Regions from separate parts of the Homo sapiens genome. Here all the other regions are linked to region 1. Evidence: promoter capture Hi-C in 16 types of primary human blood cells and fetal thymus (Javierre and others, 2016). All regions are on one chromosome and are shown on one strand. Each heading gives the region's core, a stretch centred on a gene start or on the middle of the fragment in contact. The rest is flanking DNA. Distances are from core to core; before and after follow the strand shown.

Region 1 (4,011 bases), core at 1,070-3,569:
TGCCAATTTGAGCTGTGGAAATGAGATTGCTGGACTCTTCCTTTGTCTTAGTCAGGATTCTCTTGATGGCCGATGATAGAAAGTCAGCCCAAGGAACTCCGGCAAGAAGGAGCCTGTCTGCCCCAGAGCTGGTGTGTCTGGTGGAGAATGCGGGGCCCATGCCTGGTCCCACCGCCTCCCTCCGTCTTTTGTCCCTTCTTGGCTCCAGGCTTCCTGCAGGTGCACCTCACCCAGGGAGTTTTGGAAGCTACATCCCGGGTGGGCAGGGGCAGGCATGGCTCAGGGAGATGGGGGTCTACGAGGAGGGTGGGGAGGGGTCTCCTGTCCCCAGCAGAAGGCGAAGCTCTGTCCCCATCAGGAGCCTATCTGTGTCCCGGGTCACACTCTGCTCTCTGGGTGGTGTGGCTGAAAGATCCAGGCTTTCTTAGACGCAGCACTGGATTTCTATATCACAGAAGGAGGGCACAGCCACCGTGAAATGTCAGAAAAGGAGGAGGAGTGTGCTGGCCCTTCCTTCTCTCAGGAGAGGCCCCTCCCCGGGATGAGATTGTCCCCTCCTGAGATGCTAGGACTGGGACCCAGGCGACTGAGATGCCAGGACTGGGACTCAGAGGACTGAGATGCCACCTGAGGGGACGAGGCACCATCACTGCCCCTCCAGTGTCGGCCACACTCAGAGGCAGGGGGGCAGAAGGGCTGAAGGGAAGTCCCCCAGGTCCCTGAGAAATGGATTCGCTAGAGAAGGAGATGCTGATAAACCGGAAGTAAACATTGCTTGCTCTGGTCTTGCTGTTTGCAACCCCCCCAAAATATGTGGGTTAAAACCCTAACCCCCAAAACGATGGTGTGAGGAGGTGGGGCCTTAGGGAAGTGACAAGGTCATGGAGGTGGAACCTCCCGAGTGGGATCAGTATCCTCATACAGAGGCCCCAAGAGCGGCCTGGCCCCTTGACTTGGTGAGGACTCAGGGACCGCGCCGTCCCAGAACCAGAAGGCTCTCCCCAGGCAGTGTCTGCTGGTACCTGGATCTTGGACTTCCAGTCCCCAGAACTGTGGGAAAGAAGCTCCTGTGTTTTATAAGCTACACGGTCTATGGTGTTTTGCTAAAGCAGCCTGAATAGACTAAGAAATCACTCAACAAACACTAATTAAATTAAATGCTAGGCCATCAGAATACGAAGGGGAAGAAGACAGAAACACTCGCCTCCTGATCCAGCATCCAGAACGCTCTGGGGCCCAGCAAGAGGCTGTGCTCGCGTCTTTCTCGTATCTGATCTTCGCCTCCATCCACCTGCTCGCTGGTCCTTGGCTGTGCCTCTGATACCCCAGTGTGAGAACGTGGAGTTTCTTAAGGCAATTCTCTTATCATATTTTCTCTACTTGTCACAACAAACTTACAGGAAAGTTGTTATTCCATGCGTTTTAGAGCTGGGGAGCATAGCCCCCGTGGGCTGAGCAGCTGGCCGAAGTCCTCAGCCCCTGTGGTGAGGTGCAGCTGGAGTGTGATTCTCCGGGTCCTCAGATGGGGGCATCCCCTTGAGGCCCCGCCTCTTGGCCAGGCTGCAGCCCAGGACCGTGCCAGGTGTGTGTTATCTATATTTGGACACACGCTGTGCGAAACGACGGGCACCCTGCAATTATCCGTGTGGTGTAGACGCAGTGTACGTCTGTGGTAATGGCTATAAATAAGCCCCGACTTGCCGACTAGGCACCGCTCCTCTTTTGGGTAGGCAGTTCTTGCTAAAATAGCCCTAAGATACAATCGAGTGAAGACCTGAGTCGTTCTTGAAATAAAAAAAAAAAAACGAACAAACACACGAACATGCACACACACGCTCACAAACCCAGGGGCTTGTGCACCTCCCTCCCTCCACAGCCGACCTCAACTCGGGTGTCCAGGCCTGCGAATGGCACAAATGCTCACTGAAATCCATGTCATTATTAAAGACTCATTCAGGAGTTGCAATTTGTGAGCCAGGGAACCTGTAGCTCGAAAGGATTGAAGATATGTCTGAGAATTCACACGTAAGGATTAGAACTCATGGAGGAGAGTTGCGGGGAGGGAGCGTGGGAAGTCAGTGCCCTGCCCTCTCTTTCTGGGTCGGGGGCTGAAGTGTCACACCCGGTTTCCTGGGAAAAGTGCAGTTTGGGACTCAGAAAGGACACGTTCCAGTTTTGAATCGTGATTTCCCCCGCCCTCAGTTTGAACAAGAAGCTTTTCCTCCTGAGGTCAGGCTGGTGATTTACGATGTGGGTATTGATGTGGGGAGAGGCAGGCCCAGGCGTCTATATATAGTAGCTCCTCAGACCTTAAACGGGAGGGAGGCACAGGCGCTTGCTTTGCAGGAGTCAGCTCTGCCTTCCTCGGCTGGAGTGTGGGTGGCTTGGTGAGCCGGTGGTCAGGAATTCTCTCTCCTCCTTGCAATTTTCCTTTCTGTCTGGGTAAGTGTCTTTCTCTTCTTGCCTTTTCTAATTTGTGGCTTTAAGGGGAGGACCGGTAACTTCTGCACTCACATTTTCTAAGTACCTCTACTTCAGGGTCAAGAAGAGAGAGCCAGTGCACCCCGTCGCAGGCACCCTTTACTGTGGAAAACAGAGCAATTAGTTCTGGGATCTGTATTTCTTTGACGAGGTTTTATGCTCAACTAACATTTTATTTCCCACAGCCGTGGTCTTTGCTAAGTGCCGTTTAGCACCCTGCGGCGTGTGCTTTGGGTTTTAGCCCTGGTCTCATCGTGGCCCCAGGGGGCCCCCCAGTCAGTGGACTGATGTCTGCAAGTTTCATGAGATTCTCAGAAACGAAAGCCTCCCCCGAGGAGAGGGCTGACTTATAAAGGTGTGAAATAATAAAACTGGATATTTTCTTAAGGGAAAAAAGAGTCGAGGGTCATTCAGCTTAGACCTAGCCTATATTATCCACGGTATGGGAAAGAGAACAATCCTTGTCAGGACTTGCAAGTTTTTGCCCAAAAATGACAGCGTTCTTACGGCTGTTTTCTTCTTTGTGCTGTTGGGTGTGTTGTGACCCTTCAGACTTCTTCAGCTCCACTCCGCTGATAGAGGCTGTGCCTTCTCAGGGCGTGCTCTTGAAATGCAACCTGCTGGAGAAAGACAGTGGGGCTGGGTGGTTGCACGTGGAAGGCACCGGAGGCAAACGGAAGGAAGGGGTTTGCCATCACTGGGAACACCTGGCCTTTTCTAATTCTCCATTTCACATTCCTTTCTTACTAAGTAGAAGTAAAACAGGACTCAAAGAAAGCGTGGAACAAAGATAATTTAAGGCGTTATTTAATAAACCAAGTCCCAAGCTAAAACTTGTCTTGGGAGCCAAGGGCTTAGCCACTTGTGGCACAGGCCAACGCTGCGTGTCTGGGAGTCCCTTTCCCCTCTAGAAAGCTTTAATTTGGTGTATTTATTGACTTTGACATTTTTAACTGTACAAACAATTTCCTTCATTAAGTGGAAGTCAATGTTTTGTACTTCAAACATTTTTGCAAATTAAAACCCATCCTGGTGACATGAGGAATGGGCTCCACACGTTGTTTGCAGGAAGGAATTAGGATGGGGATATCAGACACGTGGTCCCCTGCACTGGAGGAGAGGCTCGCGTTTCATCCTGGTGTCATGATTCCTAAACGTGTCAGGAGCATTCCGGGAGTGGCCGGGGAGCTGGGCTGTGGTGGAAAGTGGGCTGGACGCTGTCAGGAGAGTCAGCTGGCGCCTGGGTTCGGCCGTGGCCCTACCGGTGACCCGGGCAAGTCATATTTCCCTGGGGACGGTCTGTGCTAACAGTACAGCGTGGCGCCAGGATTATCTACACACAGGCTGTCCAAGCTGGGGGACTGTTAGCTGCCACCTCACTCAGCCCCCTGTTTTACAGCAGAGCAGGTGGAGGCCCCTGAGCTGAAGGTCAGCAGGTCCCCACTGGAGTCTCAGCCTCCCAATGCGCCTGAGCCCCAGGGACTCACATCAAAAACTACCCTGCGAGGAAAAGCTGCTTTCTTTCTCTCT
Region 2 (4,011 bases), core at 654-3,153, 420 kb before region 1:
AGATTAAGAGATTTGTCCAAATGACACCGTTGGCGAGAGGTTGAGCCAGGATCTCAATGTGGGCTTTCAGGCATCAACACATGTGCTCCACTGTGCATACAAACTGCCTTCTGCGCACCATGTTACTTCCGACCTGTAAAGCACATTTCACGGCCAAGCACACTGTTGGCCTCAGCATAGCGTTTCCTGTAGACAGGAAAAATGATCCCAGGCCCGCCTCTTTGAGTGTCTTTCCCATGGTGTCTTATTTTCACCTTCTAAAAATAAATGTTCACGTTGCTTCATCCCCCCATCCAAGAAAACTCACAGCCTTTCTCAAATCGCCTGTCCTCTCTGCTGTTCCTGACAAGTTGTTCAAAAGTTCCACTCATACTTCCATTTTCTTACCTTAACGTCTGCGATCTCATTTCTGCACCCATATCCACTGAAACTGTCCTTTTTAAAAATGACCCCAGCTTGCTGCATCTGACGGTCTTTCCCCATCTCATTCCACTTGATTTCTCAGCATCTGCTCCGGGGCCGGGCTCCTCCTGTCCCTCGGGTGCCCAGGAGCGTCCCCCGCCCCACGCCCCTCTCACTTTCCTCCTGGATTCCCTTCGTGGCCCCGCCTCACCTGAGAGGCCTCCTCCACCTTTCTGCTGCGTGACACTCACAGCCCGACGTCTTCCACACTTTTACATCTGAAGCACTCAGAGGTTCACAGCCCTGCCCGTCACACTTGCTCTGTTCTTTCACAGACTTCTTGGAAGTGCCCTAGAATCAGCAGGTCCAAATCAAACTCAGGTCCAACCTCCAAAACCTGTTTTTCTTCCTATCATAGATCTTGCCTTTGTTGGGAGAAGTCTAGGCGCCTTGGAATCATCTCACCTCTAACACATTCCTCATTCCTGTGGGCTCTGTCCCTAAAATCCAAGCCCTTTGGTGTCTCATGAGAAACCAGCTCAAGTCTGCAGGAGCCTCTCGGGGTCTGTGTCCAGGACACCACTTCCTGCATTCAGGCACCTCGTCCTCCAGGCCCCACGCACAGGGACCGTCCTGAGCTCCCAGCTCACAAGTCCCTGATTAAGAACTTGCAGTACTTTTCTTTTGCCTGTGGCATAAACATCAAGCTGTCTGGGGTGTCCCTCACAGTTTCCCACTCTGCTTCCCCAAACTTCTCTCCCAGAATGCCTTTCCCCCTTTACCCTCTGCTCTCCAGACAAACAATGCTCACTCCCCGCCTCCCAGCTGGCACACACTCTACATTTCCTTTTAGCATTTTGCATTAAGAAATCTATGTTCCAGTCTTTGTCCCCAACACACTGTCAACTACACGAGTGCTACGCTTGCCATCTTGCAGAAGGCCTTTCTTGCACTTCCAAGCACCCAGACTTACGTGGGAGGTGCCTTATTAAGATGCCTTCTCCTCGTGTTCTGTTTGGGAAGCCTTTGGTGGCACATCCTTCAAACCTGCCCAGTCCTGGTTATAGCAAAGGACGGGTAGAGCCAAGTGGACGAGAGCCGGAGGTGGTTGGTCCGGCTGGGTCAGGGTCAGCTGCACTGGGACCAGGGCAGAGGAGAGCCAGAGGAGGTTGTCCACACTGGGTTGGGGTCAGCTACACGAGGACCAGGGCAAAGGAGGTTGTCATGGCTGGGTCACTGTTAGCTGCACTGGGACCAGGGCAGAGGAGAGCCAGAAGAGGTTGTCCACACCGGGTTGGGGTCAGCCCCGTTGGGACCCAAGCCAGCGTCATGCATCTGAGCATGCTGGCTCTCACTCTCAGCTGGCCGTGGGTCAGCCATTGCAGCCCCACCTGCCACGGGCTCCAGGAAGAGCAGTCATCAGTATGGAGAAGGCCGGACTCTGCTCAGAAGCCACTGAGCAGGTGCTCCATAGACTCACCAGCTGGAGCGGGGTCACATCTCGGAGGCACCGTCAGCACCAGGAGGGCAGCCAAGCAAGGGTATGGCATTTCCGAGCCTCTGCGGTCAAGGGTATCGCATTTCCGAGCCTCTGCGGTCAAGGGTATGGCGTTTCCGAGCCTCTGCGGTCAAGGGTATGGCGTTTCCGAGCCTCTGCAGTCAAGAGCCCAGAGATGGGTTGTCGGGGCAGCTGTGGGGGCATCCCAGATGTGGGTGCCAACAGTGAGATGCAAATGTGGATTTCCCTCAAAAATGTGCTGTTAGGGAACAAGCATGCCTTCATCTCCTGCAAGGGCACAGAAAGCTCAAGAACACTTTTTACCCTGAATGTGGAAATGATCTGGAAAGAAGCCATTTTCTGAAATCCAGTCATTAATTGTGATATTATTTGAAATGTATACTGAAAGGTGTTCTAAGAATTTCCATTTTGCAGGTGGAATAATACACACATGTGCACGCACAGCACACGCACGCGTGTGCACACGAATGTCTGTTTCACTAGCACTGTTTAGCGTGCTCCATTTTCCATTGAATGCAGTGGAAGAAACACTTCTTATATTTGGGAGCTTCTCCTGTCAGATCCCATTTATAGAAATGAGAAGATGATCTCTGTATTTCAAATGAACACATTTAGTATGGAAAAAAATTTTCTTAAATATCTCCTTAGCACAACCTGCATAGAATCCTTACTGCTTTCCAAGGTAACAAGGGAGATGGTTTACGTTGTGTATTTTCAAGCATGTTTAGATGGATCTAAACAGCTGGGGTCAGAGGCCCTTTCAGGGGTACCCTTTGTTATGTATATTCGTTCTCATAATGACCTAAGTCACAGAGGAGGTTCTGAGCCCAGGATTCAGCAAGCAGCTCTGGAACCATTCGCAAAGGGCGAGAACAAGGTTGAACACCAGGAATCCTGCAGTTCTGTCTTGGGGTTATGGATTCACTTGCACAGCTTTCCGTCTCGCCTGTTTGTGGATGACAATCTAAGGGGAGCAACATCTGAAAGGCAAAACTAGAACAAAAACATTTCTGTGTTATTCTAGAAAACTTTTCACTATTTAAAAAAAAATTCTGAGCTACTAAGTCCATATAGCAAAATATGTTTCCATTTCTGACACCTGGGATGCCGCAGGAATTACCACTTAGAGAGATAACCAAAGGGGCTGAAAGTCAACTTCAAAATGCCCCGGGATGTAGGAGGGGGATTTTCAGGGGGAAGAGTCAGGTGGATTTTGTGGAGTGAGCCGTGCTGGGGACTTCACCCTGTGTCACCTGGCGGGGCCACCGGAGGGTGCATCCCCCCATCTTGATTGGCTCCCCCTAGTCCTAGTTCTTGAGTTTTGATCTGTGACTGTGAGGAACCTGGCCTTCTGGGACTCTATATGATAAAATGCTAAGCCATTATAATATTTTTTAAAAAGCCTCTTAAGCCAAATGAGGCTGAGGTTTTATTTGTTATTTTTTAACTATTTAAAAAGTCTGTGGTATCAGAGGATGGGATCTTTGGCTCTGTGGTCCTATGACTCAGCATCTTGAGTGCTTAAAATCCCAGTGACCTTGGGATTTTAAAGCATGAATTCCAGAGCCAGGCCACCTGGACTCAGAAGGGAGTGCTGCCCCCATCCCGCCCAAGCCTGAGTGCATGACCTGGCACCAGTGTGTGATGACCTGGCACCAGTGTGTGAAGACCTGTGCGTGATGACCTGGAACCAGTGCGTGATGACCTGACACCAGTGTGTGATGACCTGGCACCAGTGCTTGATGACCTGACACCAGTGCATCATGACCTGACACCAGCGCGCAATGACCTGACACCAGTGCACGATGACCTGGCACCAGTGCGTGATGACCTGACACCAGTGCGTCATGACCTGACACCAGTGCGTGATAACCTGGCACCAGTGCGTGATGACCTGACACCAGTGTGTGATGACCTGGCACCAGTGTGCGATGACGTGGCCCCAGTGTGCCATGACCTGGCACCAGTGTGTGATGACCTGACACCAGTGTGTGATGACCTGGCACCAGTGCACAATGACCTTGCAGCAATGTGCGTCTGATGCTGCATTCATAGGAGGAAGGTTGGGAAGAGGCCTGGTTTATAGGACT
Region 3 (4,011 bases), core at 387-2,886, 300 kb before region 1:
AGTGTCGCCATGGAAGCTTCAGTTCAGTTTCAGTGGTTATTGGTCCAGGGTCAATGCAAAAATGTTACTTCCCCCCAGGGGTGCGCAAGTGAGTTCAGTTTCCACACAGTAGTGTGTGAGTGAGTTCAGGCCCCGCCGTGGTGTGTGAGTTCAGTCCCCTCAGTGCTGTGTGAGTGAGTTCAGTCCCCCCATGGTGTGTGAGTGAGTTCAGTTCTCCTCAGCAGTGTGTGAGTTCAGTTCCCACCAACAGTGTCTGAGTTCAGTTTCTCTGTATCCACACTGATTCCTGCTCCTCTTTCCTGACTTTGCTGTCCTGGCGGCTATGTAGTGATATCTCACTGTGGTTGTAAGCAGCAGCCACTGATGAATAACACAGGGGAGCATCCGTTGAGTAGCCATTTTGATCTTTTCTTTGGTACAGTGCTTGTTCAGGTCTTTTGCCCATTTCTCTATTTAAATCGCTTGTTTTTTCTAATTGATTTGTAGGAATTTCTTGCATGCTCTAAACTCAGGGGTCAAGGCTGTGGTCTGGTGTTGGTGTGGGTGTTGCACTCCTGCTGTCCCAGTCCCAGGTACTTGGGAGGCTGAGATAGGAGGATCGCTTGAGCCTGGGACGTCAGGGCTGCAGTGAGCCGAGGTTGCACCAGTGCACTCCAGCCTGGGTGACAGAGTGAGATCCTGTCTCAAAAATAATAAAATAAAATAAAATAAAATAAAATAAAATAAAAATAGTCAGGGATCAGCAAACTTTTCCAGTAATGAGCCAGAAAGTTAACCTTTTAGGCTTTGTGAGCCATGTGGTCTCTGTGGGACCTTTTCTCCTGCTGTCACGTAAAACAGCTGCAGACAATACTAAACCCATGAGCCTGGTGCTGTTCAGTTTATCTTATTTTGATGGACTTGAAAACGTGAACAGCATATCATTTTTACATGTCACAAAACATCATTCTCCTTCTACATTTTTGAACCATTAAAAAAAAATAAAATTCATGGTTAGCTTACAGAGAATACAAAATAAATGGATGGTGGACCTGATTTGGCCTGAGGGCCTTGTTTTGCCAGCCCTGCTCTAGATGAAGATCCTGGGTCAGTTACACACCTGGCAATAGCTTCCCTCAGGTTCCTAATGTTTTCCTTTGAGAAATGAAAGTGTTTTCCTTGGATGCAGCCCTGGTTCTCCTTCTTCCTTCGGGCAGGTGGCTGGTTTGGACTGGAAGGAAAGTGCATCTCCCCTGCTCTTTAGTGTCCTCTGGAGGGATAGGAGCACCCACAGATCTGCAATGATGGGTGCCAGCCGCCCCCGGCGGGGGAATGAGTGCTCACTATGAGGCAAGTGACCACCACGAGCAGGAAGGTCCCTCCCACTGAGGGACGGCTTGTGCAGTCCTGGCCTGGGGGCTGATCTCCACCATGGTTCCAATCTCCTCCTGCTATGCCTTTGCCATTTTCAGAGCTTATTCTCTTTCTCTGCTCTGAACAAATAGGCAGCCTAAAACTACAACCTTTAAAACTCTCCCATAAAGAAACCTGTGGCGTTGATGAATGTAGGGGGGGCTTCCCACTAGGAGGGGATGAGCGGGGCTTGATGTTTCCGCAGATGTCTGTGCCCGCACTGGCGACTCCGATACTCCAATGCAGGTTCATCAACTGTAACACACGGACCAGTCACGGCGTTGGCCGTTCTCTGGTTTGGGCACATGTAGAATGACACGTACCCACCATTACAGTGTCACTGCCTAAAATTCCTTCGTGCAGCATCCCTTTTCCGCTGGTAGGGGGGAAGCAACCTCTTTGAGCCTCACGGTGTGAATAAACACAGATGATCGTCCTGTAGAAAATAGCTGCTCCTTCATTTCCACCTTCCAAATTTCTGCAAATCTCTCTTTCCTCCAACAGGACGTTGGAACCATTCAGGGAAGGGAACTTTGAGAAACACAGATTAGCTAAGAGAACGCGGTACAGAGCCACTCAGAGAGAAGACAAATGCGTCATCACGACAAAGGCTCGACGCTGATAGGGTCAAGGCCCTTCTAGTGACAGAAGAGAGAGGGGAGAGCCAGCGGAAGGAGCCGCGTGCCTGGCGGGAGGCTCCTTGAGGACGAGAGAAGATGAAAACTCGGGAAGGCAGCTCCCTAGGCAGGTCTTCCGTGATATGCAGGAACTATCCCGGCTGGGAATGTGACGGTGAGACGTGACACCGCGAAGGATGGCAGCACGTGCACAAATAAGGGGTGAAGGTCAAGGGTGAGGTCTGGAAACGGGCTGGCGTGGCCGGGAGGGGGACTTCCTGGAGGAAGGTGCAGGGCAGGAAATGGGAGCAGGGCCCCTGGATGGGGCCGGATCCGAGGGGAGGGCAGGCACCTAAACACTTCGAGTACCCAATGGCGTGCCGCATGACACTTGCTATGACCTTGGCATCAACACGGGACCCGGCTCGTGATGGGCAAACTGCACGAGGATAAAAACGTTCCCCTGAGATGTTAGGAGAAAAAAAAAATTGGCCGGGCGTGGTGGCTCACACCTGTAATCCCAGCACTTTTGGAGGCCGAGGCTGGTGGATCACCTGAGGTCAGGAGTTTGAGACAGCCTGGCCAACATGAGGAAACCCCGTTTCTACTAAAAATACAAAAATCAGCCAGGCATGATGGCACACACCTGTAATCCCAGCTACTCGGGAGGCTGAGGTACAAGAATTGCTTCACCCCGGGAGGCAGAGGTTGCAGTGAGCCGAGATCACACCATTGCACTCCAGCCTGGGCGATGAGAGCAAAACTCCGTCTCAAAAAAAAAAAAAAAAAGAAAAAGCGGAAAAAAAGTCACAAGAACAGCTAAACAGCTCTATGTGGCCCTGAGCCTGGCACTCCGGTAGCACTTGGTGAACGCTGGATGAATGTAGCACTTGGTGAATGCTAGATGAATGGCTTAATGAGTCAGCAAAGGAAGCTCACCAGTTCTTCTTTTCCATGATGAAAAGGTAGTTTCCCCATATGACCATAGGCTCTCAATGGGCAGGGAGCGATGGAGACAGCTCAGCCTTTGATTCTAGTCCTTACATGGAAGACAGCGTATTGCAGAGACTCAGCCACAAAGAGAACTGAATACGGTGTCTGAAATTCTCCTTCTCCTGAATTGTCAATGTTGGTGTCTTTTCGCTTCTGAACAGCATTCCGTGAGAGAACCACGACCCTGGCCCAAACGTGTAGGCTGTGGCTGGCTGTTTTGTTTTGTCGTGGTTTGTCTGGATGCACAAAAATGCTTAAGCTTTAAGTCTCTGATAGTTTACATTTTGTGATGTAAGAACAAGAAAAAAAAACTTCCTCCAACCTAATGCTCTCTGCAAACCAGAAACAAAGTAAACAAGCAAAACCTGCTCTGCTCAGCTTCCGTAATTCCAAATGTTTTATAAGGGTGACTGCAGCATTGGCGGCTTGCTATCTCCAGACTGTGGGCTGTCCCTCACAGCCAGGCCATGACTCAGTCACCTCTTGCTCTCTCGGGGTGTCTGCCCAATGGATTTGTCACAGAATCAGAGGCCCAGTGAGTGACCAAGGCTTGCCTGAGCAGGATATGAAAGCCGCGCTGCTAGAATCTAAGCTGGACCGCAGCATAGGCCACGCGCTTTCCATCCTACCTGCCCTGTAACGTGACTGACGTTAGCTGCGGTGGGGCGAGGAGCGCCGTCTTGTGTCCTGAGTTTGATCACCTCGTCAGACCACAAGTTGGAGGTGTGGGTTTCTGAAGTGACAACATCCTCACTGAAATTCTGCCCATGCACTTTCTCTTCTCATTTTGTTTCCACCCACCGTGACCTTTTTCCTCTTTTTCCACCCCAAAGGAAGAGAAATGTCAAGAAAATAACACTACAGAGCACATATGGAGGAAAGGCAGACAGTGCAAAGATTGCAATAACTGTGTTCCTCCAAGTTATAAGATGTGGAAATAAGACAAGTGATGGGTCCCACGTCCAACGTGGCTCGGCTAGAAGGTGCTTTCTGCTTTAATATGTGGGGA
Region 4 (4,011 bases), core at 533-3,032, 270 kb after region 1:
CTGCTCAGTGGACAGTTGTGGAAATAAAGGCATGTATATTATTAACCTGTACACATACACACACTTCCGTATTTATTTCTATGTGTATCTATGTCTGTATCTATATCCATGTATCAGAGAGTGAGTCAATACCGACACTTCCAATTTTAATCCGACACTAGAGGAATCATTCCAGCAAGCCCCCTTCCTTATTTGTAACTTCCTTTTCTGACAGTGAGAACTGGACTCTCATTATCCACAATATATTTACTTATTTGTTCTATTCCTGGCATAGACACAAAGCGGGTTCAGAATTGCTGATGTATCCTTCTCGGAGAAGCAAATCTACTGAGCAGAGCTCAGCCTTTGTGCAGAGTCCTCTCTTCATCAGCCTCTTCTTAGTCTGTTCAGGCGGCTCTGACAAAGTATTACACACGGGGTGACTTGTCGACAGCAGACATTTATTTTGTGGAGGTTGAGGTTGGAGCTCAGGGTGCCAGCATGGTTGGCTTTGGGTTGGTTCAGGCTCAGGGCTTAAAGACTCTTGTGCTTTTTGGGATTGTTGTAAGTTTTTCTGCTATCGGTTTACGTGTTTTTTGTGAAGTTTACTTCTTTGTATTTGATCTTTGTGCTATTTTTTTCTACCTTTGTGTTCTCTGGCTCATTATAGTTTGGTATACAAAGGCTTTTGACTTTTATATGTTAATTTTATGTGTATTCTCATGATTTGTGGGAAATATATTCTACAGACTCACTACAAACCCTGGATTAGCAAACACCAAACCATTGCTCCTGAGGGAAATACTAGGTTAGATTCCTCTGAGCTTTTATCTCAACGTATTCTTCTACTGATCAATACACAAGCTTGTTTAATGTGTTTCTGTTTTACTTCCTGTTTATTGGCAACCAGCACTCTATTTATTATAATTATTATTTTATTATTTTTACTGTAGTCAGAACAGATAACAGAAGATGTATCTTTTTAACAAATTTTTAAGTGTGCAGTACGGTATCATTAAGTGAAAGCCAAATATTGTGCAGAAGATGTCTAGAACTTTTTCATCTTGCGTAAGTGAGACTTTGAAGAGAACCTGGAGGACATGATGGTAAGTGAAACGGCCAGTCATAGAAGAAAAATACTGTGTGAGTTTTCCTAATTGAGATATCTGAACTACTCAGATTTGTGGATGCAGAGAATAGAATGGTGGCTTCCAAAGGCTGGAGGAGGAAATGGAAGTTGCTGTTGAATGTGTATTTCTGTTTAAAGACAACTGATTTAATATCTATTGTTGACTCCTTCTCTTTGAACTCATGGCCACCATCACTATAACTCCTGCCTGCTCGAGCAAAAGTCTTTTCCATAAAGCACGTAACAGCCTTCATGTACTTAGAAGCAGCCGTCAGCACTTCAGTATTGATTGGGGGCCACTTAAACAGTGAAATCACCAACATACACACTCACACATGCAAAAGCAGGGCACTACATCCACTGTGAAAAGGACACGCGTCTCACCGTGTGGAGCCTTGTTCAACCTCAGCTGGGCGGCTTGAGGCTTTCTGCCCTGTTCACCTGTGTGAGTGACCACCAGAGAGCCGTGGTGTACAATGTTATTATTTTATATGTATATAGATTGTATAGTGATTACCACAAACAAGTTAATGGGGCAGCGGTTGCAGAAAACAGTCTGGTGGTTCCTCAAAAAAACTGAAGATAGAACTACCATATAACCTGCCAGTCTCACTTCTGAGTATGTACCTAAAAGAATTCAATCAGTGTCTTAAAGAGATATTTTATATCCACGTTCATAGCAACACCATTCGTAACAGCCAGAGGGTGGAAGCAACCCAGGTGTCCATCAATGGATGAATAGATCCACATACTGTGGCATCTATGTGCAACAGAACAGGATTCAGCCTTAAAAAGGCATCTATGTGGCTGGGCGTGGTGGCTCATGCCTGTAATCCCAGGACTTTGGGAGGCTGAGGCGGATGGATCACCTGAGGTCAGGGGCTTGAGACAAGCCTGGCCAACATGGTAATACCCCGTCTCTACTAAAAATACAAAAATTAGCTGGACATGGTGGTAGGTGTCTGTAATCCCAGCTACTTGGGAGGCTGAGGCGGGAGAATTGCTTGAACCTGGGAGGTGGAGGTTGCAGTGAGCCGAGGTAGCACCACTGCACTCCAGCCTGGGCTACAGAGTGAGACTCCGTCTCAAAATAAATAAACAAATAAATGCAAGTTGCAATGGGAAGACCACCTACAGAGAAAAGAAGACATCACTATTTATTAAAGAAGACATAAAAATTATTAAAATTATATTTAGACTTTAGTTCAGAAAAATATAGATATTAATAAGCTATTTTGGCAGGCTTTCTATTAAAATCACTTTATATTAAAGTGATACTGCTCAGTTATGAAACAATGATTATTTTAAATAATATTTTGTTTATGTTTATATATTTCTTAAGGTATTTTTGAAATATTAAAATGACTTAAGGCAGATCATAAAAGTTACTTGGCGGAGGGATCTCAAGTGATTTGAACAAAATGACTTTAAGCAGTTCCTGTTGCAATATTTTATTTGATAATATTACTTAAATAATAATGATATAATACTTACACAAAAACATCCAGTCCTTTTTTTTACAAAAGTAATAAAATTGTTATACTTATGTCCTTTTACATCCAAATAATCTTCTACTATGTTTTTCTAGATGTATTCTGCTACACCAAAGTATAGAAGCTTTGCAAGACAAAATCTAGATGTATTCTGCTACACCAAAGTATAGAAGTTTTGAAAGACAAAAATTGCCATATGTAGTATGGAAGAATAGCAATACCGTTTTTAAAAAACGAGGTGCATTAAAGTAAATGTCATATTTGAATGCATTGATCCATAAATGTGGACAATTGAACAGCACACACATTTACTAACCGTGCCGTGTGCTGATGCTAATCTTCTTCGGGTGGCTCCTAGAGAATGAGGTTGGAGTGTGGGGGACTGGGGAGGTGTGGGGGACTGGGGAGGTGTGGAAGGCCTTCACTTTCTTGGTGTTTGCTTGGAGTGGTAGCAAAATGCTTGTCCTTTATTTATTAAAACATGGATAAAATCGCAAGAAAAAGAAAAGAGCTCTTTTGCTTGGTAGCATAATCTTCTAATTTTTTTCGTAATTTCTTCAATGCAAAAATTTGGAATATTTGGGGCAAAATCTTCTCTCTTCTAAGAATACACTTGGTTCTGCAAAACTGCTTCTTCTGTGTCCCAAGCTCTTGCAGACACCCGGGAACCTGGGGGATACCTTTCCTTAGGGGATAACTCTTCCTTAGGAGAGGAACCCAAGACGACTGTGCCTGTTGCCTTTTAACATCTTATATTTGATGCTGAACCCAGAATGAAACTTAGAGTGAGCTCTTTACCATAAAGTGATGGAGTAAGCTCTAAACGAGGTGTGGGCTTTTCTATTTATTGTGCTTGAAGTAAATATGGTCTTGGTAGGGCACAGCTGGGTCTTTGCTGGACTCACATCACAGTACTGGGAGTGATTACTGAGTGTTCATGGGTCCCACGCACTGTTTCCGTGCTTAACATCTGTTAACTCAGCTCTTAGCAGAATCCCAGAGACAGATATTGTTCTATACGTAGCTTTACAGGCAAGGACCGTGAGGTCTGGAGCGCTTCAACAACTTGCCCCGGTATTATAGGGAAGTAACTGCAGGCATCCACCTTGCAACCCTCACCATCTGCCTGCAGGGTGCGTGCTGTTCACCCCTGCGCTGCGCTGCTGTGCTCTGCCCTGCTACGAGGTTGGGCTGGGGTCGGCGAGACTGAGATTCACCACACCCAGTTGTCCTCTGTCTCCATAGACCATCATCATTCCTACTTCCTTGACTTTAGGTGTGGCCTTGTGACTCGTTATAACCGGCGAACTGTGAGTGGAAACCATGGAGAGCGTGATGGGGCTGAGGTATCTGATTGGCTCTCCTGGTCCTACGCTTGCCCTGGAACCCGGAGGAACAGGGCGTGAGGCT

What was found. Contacts are between HindIII fragments. The CHiCAGO score rates a contact against its expected background, and 5 or more counts as called.
Region 2: the fragment with the promoter of DLGAP2-AS1 here is called in contact with the fragment with the promoter of MYOM2 in region 1 in 4 of 17 cell types (M2 macrophages, naive B cells, total B cells and 1 more); the score reaches 8.1 in M2 macrophages.
Region 3: a contact is called between a fragment that was not itself captured here and the fragment with the promoter of MYOM2 in region 1, in 1 of 17 cell types (fetal thymus). The highest score is 5.1, in fetal thymus.
Region 4: a contact is called between a fragment that was not itself captured here and the fragment with the promoter of MYOM2 in region 1, in 6 of 17 cell types (activated CD4 T cells, non-activated CD4 T cells, fetal thymus and 3 more). The highest score is 7.8, in activated CD4 T cells.

What each region holds. Positions count from the first base shown.
Region 1 is chr8:2,042,727-2,046,737 of GRCh38, forward strand. MYOM2 (myomesin 2) reads left to right here and starts at 2,320. Exons shown (of 37, transcript NM_003970.4): 1 at 2,320-2,442. The HindIII fragment of the contact is 1,181 bases long and covers 2,214-3,394 here.
Region 2 is chr8:1,619,761-1,623,771 of GRCh38, forward strand. It overlaps DLGAP2-AS1 (DLGAP2 antisense RNA 1), which reads right to left and starts at 1,904. Exons shown (of 4, transcript NR_103863.1): 1 at 1,883-1,904; 2 at 614-753; 3 at 1-133. All of the region lies in intron 6 of DLGAP2 (DLG associated protein 2), which reads left to right. The HindIII fragment of the contact is 8,845 bases long and covers 1-4,011 here.
Region 3 is chr8:1,742,175-1,746,185 of GRCh38, forward strand. It overlaps LOC105377778 (a long non-coding RNA gene), which reads right to left. Exons shown (of 4, transcript XR_007060784.1): 4 at 645-678. Among named protein-coding and RNA genes, the nearest start is that of CLN8, 20 kb to the right of the region's middle. The HindIII fragment of the contact is 3,245 bases long and covers 15-3,259 here.
Region 4 is chr8:2,313,386-2,317,396 of GRCh38, forward strand. No RefSeq gene overlaps it. Among named protein-coding and RNA genes, the nearest start is that of MIR7160, 240 kb to the left of the region's middle. The HindIII fragment of the contact is 1,882 bases long and covers 842-2,723 here.